Linked DNA regions of Homo sapiens: region 2 is linked to region 1. Evidence: promoter capture Hi-C in 16 types of primary human blood cells and fetal thymus (Javierre and others, 2016). All regions are on one chromosome and are shown on one strand. Each heading gives the region's core, a stretch centred on a gene start or on the middle of the fragment in contact. The rest is flanking DNA. Distances are from core to core; before and after follow the strand shown. Region 1 holds the start of DUSP5 (dual specificity phosphatase 5). Region 2 holds the start of ITPRIP (inositol 1,4,5-trisphosphate receptor interacting protein).

Evidence for each region. Contacts are between HindIII fragments. The CHiCAGO score rates a contact against its expected background, and 5 or more counts as called.
Region 2: a contact is called between a fragment that was not itself captured here and the fragment with the promoter of DUSP5 in region 1, in 1 of 17 cell types (total B cells). The highest score is 5.4, in total B cells.

What each region holds. Positions count from the first base shown.
Region 1 is chr10:110,495,979-110,499,835 of GRCh38, reverse strand. DUSP5 (dual specificity phosphatase 5) reads right to left here and starts at 1,929. Exons shown (of 4, transcript NM_004419.4): 1 at 1,336-1,929. The coding sequence starts at 1,714. It overlaps DUSP5-DT (DUSP5 divergent transcript), which reads left to right and starts at 3,354. Exons shown (of 2, transcript NR_187547.1): 1 at 3,354-3,448. RefSeq lists silencers at 1,203-1,472, 1,593-1,652, 1,723-1,862, 1,873-2,402 and an enhancer at 2,884-3,407. The HindIII fragment of the contact is 7,811 bases long and covers 1-3,857 here.
Region 2 is chr10:104,334,243-104,338,496 of GRCh38, reverse strand. ITPRIP (inositol 1,4,5-trisphosphate receptor interacting protein) reads left to right here and starts at 32. Exons shown (of 2, transcript NM_001272013.2): 1 at 32-251. RefSeq lists an enhancer at 1,155-1,354. The HindIII fragment of the contact is 1,053 bases long and covers 1,691-2,743 here.

The DNA of each region.
Region 1 (3,857 bases), core at 680-3,179:
AAACTTCTCCAAACCACAGGAGATAAAAACCATATTAGGAAGAGAAAGAAATCAGGAGGCACGCTGAAACCTCTGCAGAGCCAGAGGGCCAACCCTCTATCCCCTGGGGGATAGGCTGTTAGAAGAAGGACGATTACCATCTACCTCTGTTAACTCTCCAACAGGAAATCAACAGGGGACCAGTCAGCAGGAGGTGCTAGCAGAGAGGGGAACTGTCTCCAGAATCTTCCTGGCCCGGACTGTGTGAAACTCAAGTTGCATGGCTTTAAAACAGGCTCCTAACTCGGCGCCGGCTCTCTGCACCGAGCTCTGATCCCCAACACTGTTACATCCCAAGGTGTCCGCGCCAGGGCTGGCACGGCCTTGGGGCCCTGCTGGGGCTAAACCCTCATCTCTACATGTGGGTCAGGTCTCCCCGGGTGTCATTTGAGGTTACAAAGGACTCAAACACAAAGCAGGAGCAGTCATAGGAAGTAACCCAGAAAAAACCAATGCTTTGGATTTTGAGAGTCAATCACCCACCCACCACCAGAAGCCAAAGTTATCTTCCCGGCAGGTGAAATGGGCAGGCCTGTGGCGGTAGCTCCGGGAGGTGTCAAATCAAAGGCCGCAGAATCTCCATACCACCCTGCCCCCGCGCACCTCTATTTCGTGGCTGGCTGGCTGTAGGCTCAGCTCAGGATGGGTCCCAGGGATAATCCTGGGGCGGAGGAAGGAGGAGGTGAAAAGGGTGGAAAGGATGTGAGCTCCAAACTGAGCTAGAGAAAAGACCTAGGAGGGGAGAAGAGGCCGGAGGGAAACAATAAAAAGCAATAAAATGAAATGGAAAGGGAAGGGACTCGCCAGGTCAAAAAGGCAAGGGGGTCGGTGAAGACCACAGCTGGCTAGGCGGGAGGAAGGGGGGCACCACGGCGCCACACCAAGGGAGAGTGGATCGCGACCTGCTGATCCCGCCAGATCAGTCTATCAGGAAGGCCCCGAGCCCTGACCCCAGCGACAGCGGCGAAGCTCGCGTCTGGAAAGGGGGCTCGTGCCCGGCACGAGCCGACGGCCCCCAAACTGCTAAACAGCAGCAGCCCCCGCAGCATAACCAACTCCACCCAGACCACCGGGCAGACCCGCTGCCGGGCGCTTTCGAGGAACGCGGGTGGGGAAGAGGGGGAGCTCTGAGTGCTGACATTTGCAGTGCCCTCCCAAGCGCACAACAAGCCACAGGGTGCAGACTCCTGCAGGTGGTGACTCTCCCGGTCCCAGGGTGTAGGAGGGCGCCCCGGCGCAGGGAGGGGACCCGGGGGCGCCGGAGGGGCGAGCGTGGCAGGGACCCCGAGCGCTCACCTTTGAGGAAGTAGACCCGCGGGCCGGCGGGTAGGCAAGCGAGTAGCGAGGTGAGGACGACACGCGCGGCGCTCTCCTCTCGCAGCTTCTGCCAGTGGCGGCTGCCCTGGTCCAGCACCACCACGGCCGCGACGCCGCCGCCGCCCTCCTGCAGGAGCCGCGCGCGCGCCGCCTCGTCGGGCAGCACGTAGCGCGCCGACACCGCGCCGCCCCGGGCCCGCCGCAGCACCACCGAGTTGAGGTTGACGTTGAGCGAGCCGCGCACGTTCGAGGCAGCGAAGGCCAGATAGGGCCGGCAGTCGAGCACCACGCAGCGCGCCGCCGCCTCCTTGCGGAGCATCTTGCGCAGCTGGCGCCCGTCGAGCGACGTGACCTTCATGCCGCCGCCGCCGCCGGCCAGCGGCCCCGCGCCGCGCGCCCCGCGGGTGCCCACGGCCAGGGTGTCCACGGCCAGGGTGTCCGCGGGCGAGGCACGGGAGGGCGACCCGCGGGGCTGCGGCCGCGACGGAGCCCGGCGCCCGAGCGGCGGCGCAACTCCGCGTTCCCGCCCCGCTCGCTCGATAGCCAGCCCGGCCGCTCGCCGCCCTAGAAGCCGGGGATTCCGCCGGCCGCGCAGCGTTTTATGTGAATGAGTGCCGTCCGTGACGCGGCTGCCCATATAAGGCCAAATATGGGTGTTTCCCCGCCCCTCGGGCCGTGGCCACGCCCTGCAGGGGGCGGGGCAGCGGGGGCGAGGGACGCGCGGGGCGGGTGCCGGCGTTAGAGCGAGAGGAAGTGGAAGGCGCCTCTTCGTTCTCTCTTCCGCGCTTCGCTGAGGGACTCACTCGCGCATCACCCGCGGCTGCCGGTCGAGTGTCCCAGGCGCTCCGGGGCCGCGGTGACCCTCGCGGTGCGGACCGAGGAGGAAGCGCCGTGGGGGGCGGGGCGGCGCCGCACGATCCGGCCTTCAGCTTCACGGACGTGGGCTGAGAACCCGCCCGCGCCGCGCTGAGCAGGGCCGAGGGAGCCGGCCAGGGCCCCAGAGGAGTCCGGAACGGATTCCCGTCGCTACCGAGGTCTGCGCGTGTAAGGAGAGGACGTCGGAGATTTGCCTCGAGGGGTGGGGTATAGATGACTGGAGAGGTCAGGCGCGGGTTGGTCATCGCTGAGGCTGGGTGATGGGTGGCCGGATTCGTTATACTGTTTTCTCCACTTTTCTGTATGTTTGATATTTTTCATAATAAAGTTTGTAAAAGTAAAAACGGGGGTTGGGGGTCGGCGGTGAGAATAGCCATTTAATCTTCCTAAATGGATTCTGCCCTCAAAGGATTGACGCTCTTTTCTCTGTCACTCTCCAATAATGATTAGAATAATAAGTTGTATTTTGAGGAGCTGTTTTCTGGTCCCGGGGAGACCCTTGGTGAACTCAGCAGTACCATCAGCATGTATCCCACGATGGAGCTCAGTTCAGCCAACTGTTGTCCAGGTGGCTTCTGGATTTGGGGGATTATCTATGGATCAAGTTTAATCTCAGGCTGTCTGCCCCCACCGGTCCCCAGGGGCTTCAGGCCTCCCACCCCTATTCCTGGGGAAGCAGACACAATTCACCCATTCAGCAAGCATTTATTGAGGGTCAGCCGTGTGCCAGGGCTTTGCTAGCTGCGGGGACACATGGATGGAAACAGGTTTCTGCCCCCAAGCTCACTGCCAACCATTTTATTGTTAGCCTGGCTGGGACTGCTTGATGGAAAACAGTCTGCCCGCACTAGACAAGGGCTTGTTGACAACTGACATAAGGGAATGAGGTTTTCAGAAGGAAGCAGAGATCAAATTTTGAAATCAGATGCAATCAAATCAGACACCAGGACAGCCAGCATTGCCTCTGGGTCACAGATGCATCCACCCAAAGGCGCTGTCCTCGCCTTGCCAGTGGGGTCTTGGTGAAGACGTGATGCGGGGGCCTTCTTTCTTTTTGTGGTTATCTGTGCCAGCCTTCCCTGCAGGCTGCTCTTCCTCTAGCACGTTCTGTTTCTGTTACCGGCTCTTTCCACCCCCGGCATCTCCGCCTAGAGCCACACACATACGCGGAGCACCCACGTGGGCCAGGCTTTGTTTTGGGGCTGGCGGCACCAACGTGAGTAAGACTTATACTCAGCCCCAGCTGCCCCCAGCCCAGAGGGAAGGGGAAGGCCTGTAGTCCGTGGGGAAGAGCGCCCAGTAGGGGTGTGGCAGGGTGGGGCGTGGGCTGGAGAAGGCCTCCCGAGGAGAGGAGAGCTGAGGCCAACTCCGAGGAATGAATTGTAAGCCAGGCTGCGAAGCAGGAGGGGAGATTCCAGGCAGAGGAAACTGCTTGGGGTAAAGAAAACAAAAAACGCAACCCCCCCAGCATGGTGCGTACTGGAGGTATGTGGGAGACTAAGGCCCTTCTGGTATTTATTAGCAGATTAAGCAGGGTCAGGCAACAGAGGGCCTTGTGCTGTTTTGAGTCATTTGGGTCTTAGTCTTTGGCCGGGCAGTCCCCAACGAGGGATCTTACTCAGTGA
Region 2 (4,254 bases), core at 968-3,467, 6.2 Mb after region 1:
TTATAAGGAGGAAAAAGTTTTTGTGACATCCAGGAAATGAGTAACTCTGAAGTTCAGTAGAGCCGGCCGCTGCAGGCCAGAAGGTGGGAGCCAGCGGGGGCATCGCCGCCCGCGCCCCTCTAAGTGCCGGGCCGCAAGCTCCACCGCAGCCGCCTGCAAGCAGCGGCGCCTCGGCCCTCGACCTGCGCGCAAAGCCTGTGCTGGAGCCGTCCTCCCGCGGCGGGGACCGGGACCGGGGACCCAAGCCAATCGTAAGTCCCAGGGCAGCCTAGTGTGCTGAAGGAAGAAGGGCGCGATGGAGAGCGCGAGCTCGGAGGAGCTGTGTCGGAGATGGCTGCCGACAGAGGGGGCGCAGGAGGGTGTGGGGAGCGCGGGCGCCTGCTCCTCCCGGGTGGGGGCTGACTTTGGAGACCCCCTTCCCTTAAAGCGCGCGTGCCCAGGCGGGCGTATTGTCTCCTCGCGGTCCCGCATCCTGTTCCCGCCGCGTCGGGGGATGCGTCCCGGGCGCTCGCTCCAGCCAGGGCTGCGGGCAGCTCCTCCTCGAGGCGCGCGCAGCCTCGGAGCCCAGAGCGGGACCACATTTTTGTTCCTAGTGGCCAGGTGACCCGTTACTTCTCACATCTGAGCAGAGCGCTACCGAAGAAAGAAAAGCCGGTTCGCCCTGCTCATTTGCTGCCCCCTTTTCCCCTTCCCCTTCCCTCCCTTCCTGTAAGGGAGGAATAGGCGTGAAGTTTTTTTTTCTCGGTTCATGGTAGTGAAGTTATGGGGCTGCTTCAGGCCGGATAAAATCCCCGCCGCTTCCTCTTTCGGGACTATTAGTGGGCCAGACCTCACGCTGTGCAGACTTGCTCTTGGGCTGCAAATAACTCTCTGCCCCTTCACCCCTAACCCCACCCTCAACCCCATCCCTGTGACTTTGCCATTCTGGCCGCCTGGTGAAGACTCCCGGGGCGGGACTCCCCATCCAAAACGCTTTCTCTTAAAAAAAGAAAAAGAAAAAGAAAAAAAAAGCCACCGACCAGGAAGGTAAAATATTTTACGGAACCAGGCAGGGGCCTCATTTTGCCTTTTGCCCCTCTGCTGGTATGAGAAAAGCACCCTTTCACAACTAGTAGAGTACCAGATACTGGTCTCATTTCACAAACAGTAGAGTACCAGATATTGGTCGCAATCTGGACTCTGGTCTTTTGGATCTAAATCGGGGTCGCGGTCTATTTTCTTGTTCTTTTTTTGGATATGACCCAGTGCTCTTGCCTTTTACAAACCGAGTCTATCTGACTGCCAGCTAAAGTTCATCTGTGGTTGGTGCAGTTTTAGGCCCAGGTGAGCCCTGAAAATAGAGTATCAGAAAAGTGGATTACTGTCTTTCCTCCTTACGAAAACAGAATAGGCTGTGTTTTTGAGTCCTCCCTCCAGCCCTCGTGCCTAAGTGGCTTTCATTGTTTGCTAATTCCCTGTATGTTGCGGCTGCTCTGGGCCATTCTGCCTTCGGATTTTCTCCACTTGTGGGTAACCATGAAGTAGTTATACTGACTCTCTGCTCTCCCTGGGTGCATTCTTCTCATGCTCAGTAAATCTACATTTTACGTAAGATAAAGTAAGCATGTGAAATTATAGCTATCTGTTTGGCAACAAAAGGAATGCAGTTTTGTTTTCGGTTTTGTTTTTTGCATGACTGAGTTCCCAAGCTTAACTTTTCCCTTTGGCATCCTGAGCTTGGGGTCCTAAGGTTGTATTTTCCTTTCACAGCTATCAGCAGAGACAGGTAGCCATCAACAGTTAGGAAAGAGTCTGGGCTGGGTGGCTGCCTGTCTTCCCAGAGCTTTGGGAGGCTGAGGTGGGAGGATTGCTTGAACCCAGGAGTTCCAGGCTTAGAGCTGGGATCACTTGGTTGGGATCACTTGGTTGGAGCTAGGATCGTGCCACTGCACTCCATCCGGGTGACAGAGTTCAGACCCTGTCTTTAACCTACCCCCCAATGCCCCGCTGCCCCCCCCCCCCCAAAAAAAAATAACTGGGCAGGAGAAGGTGCTTTCAGAGTCCAAGACTCAGGTTCCATGTTTCGAGTTGAGAGTCTGCCCCAGTAGGGTTGAGGTGGCACGGCAGCCTGTGGGGCTTTAATGGAGAATCTGCTTGGAAGGGGTGGGTGCTCCAAGTGTTCTGGGAGCTGAGAAGCAGGACTTTATTATGGATGACACCAGGCCATCCTGGACCCTTCTCTCATCCAGTCTTGCTGGGGAGGGGTACAGAGCCAGGAGGATGCTGAGAACTGTTCATGATAACCTCCAGGGCTGCTGCTAGCCTATTCAGTCCTTCGCATGAATTAGAATAAGGTGCTCTGTCTTGGCAAGAGGATGGGGCTTGATGCCTCTTAGAAATACTGGCCTTACTTGAGTGGACATAGCCAAGCCATATAGCTGGATAAGTGGCATGTGAGCTGGATTTATCCTCACCCCTCAGCCAGGTGCCTTAAGCAGTACACTGCCTGGTCCACCATTCACACAGCAGCCCTGATAAACAACCACTATTGAGGGCTTAACATTCGCCAGGCTTTTTTTTTTTTTCCCCAAAAGTACTTAGCCTGTATTAACTCATTTAATCCTCACAGTAGCCGTATGAGTTAGGTATTGTTAACTCCATTTTACAGATGAGGAAACTGAGGCACAGGGATGTTAAGTGTTCCAGAGCCTGGAAGGTGAGTCTTAATCACTGGGCATTCATAGACCAAGAAGCAACTTAAGCTTAAAAAGCTAGTTTAATTGGGAACCCTCGTGGGAAAGGGGGAAGAACAGTTGCCTTTTTCTTTCTCTGTCAAAGGAGGAAATACCCATTCTCAGTCCAGGTGGAGGAAGGAGGGGAAATTCATCTGGCAGGAGGCAGAGGAGGAAAGAAAAGAGGCAAGCCGGGCCTTGATGGCTGATGGGGAGCCTGGCCCAAGAATCAAGTGACTTTCCTTAATCTCTGGGCGGTGTGAGGTGGCAGATCCAGTTTGGGGCCTGGCATGAGGGTGATGAGTAAGTGCCCCCAGGTGTGGCTCAGAGGGAAACGGCGGTGGCTGCACGCAGGGTCCTGACCTAGGCAGAGAGCGAGTGGAAGGAGGTGAGACAACTGTCCTGACCTTCCAAACCCCTAATCCCCATCTGTGGTCTCTTGCTTCCTTGTTGAAGTCCCATTCACCCACAAATGCCCTTCTCAAGTTCGTCCAAGAACCCTTCCTGAAACTCCATTTCACAGTTCCATATACATGATCTCTTAGTTTCCACACCGTACAGCTGAGCGCTTAATTAGCTGGAACCGAGCATTTCACTATGTACTGTCGATAGGCACTTTAAACAAAATAGGCTTCTCATCAGTGAGGAAGTCAAGATGCCTCCTGGGAGGGGCCAGCTGGTGCCCAGCAGATTGCTCAGAGGGTGGTGTTTACCTGGATCACGTCACCTGTCCCAGGGCATGGCTCTTAGCTGTGCCCGCTCAGAAACCCAATTTCCATAATTTTCAGAGTGGTTTGGACTCAAGCTACTGATTCACCCTGAGAAAGCTCCCAGAAGAGGGTGTACGAATCAGAATGCTGGTTTATTAATTTGCAAGGAGACTTCGCAAACATCACACAGACTGAATGTCGTCTCTTCCCTGCGTCCTAGACAAGCCATATGGGAAACCAAAGACCAGAAGGTGGACTGCGCTTATCAAAGCTGGAGTCAGAACCAGGCAGGAGCAGCATGGGGTGAGGGTGGGGGACAGTGATGTCCAATAGTGCAGGGCTTTGTCTACCTCTGCGGCCCTCTCACCAGCAGAAAGATAGCTGCCAGGTAGACTGGATACTCAGGTCAGCCTGGCTATGGGCATCTCCTTGGCCAGTGCCTCAAGGGCAGTATTTCCCTGAGAAATCCTGGTAGCATTTCTCCCTTTCCTCTCTCATAATGTAGTAATTTTTTATTTTATTTACCTATTTGTTTAGTGCTTTGCAAGCATTAGCTCCCAGAGACATAGATTTGCATTTGCGTAAATTCGATAACTACTGTACAATCTCAGAGTTGTAGGGCCAGGCCATGAGAGTAAGTGCTATATGCAAATCAAGAGGATGATCCGGTAACCTGGATGGATCAATAGAAAGCCAAGCATAGAGCAAAGACACGTGGTCCCCAATCAGCATGGAGGCTGGGCCAAGGCTGGCCAGTTGTTGCATCCCCTGCGTAGGCCAGGGGGTGAAGCATTCCTAAAGCAGTGCCTGCTTCGGCTGCCTCAGGCAGCCTG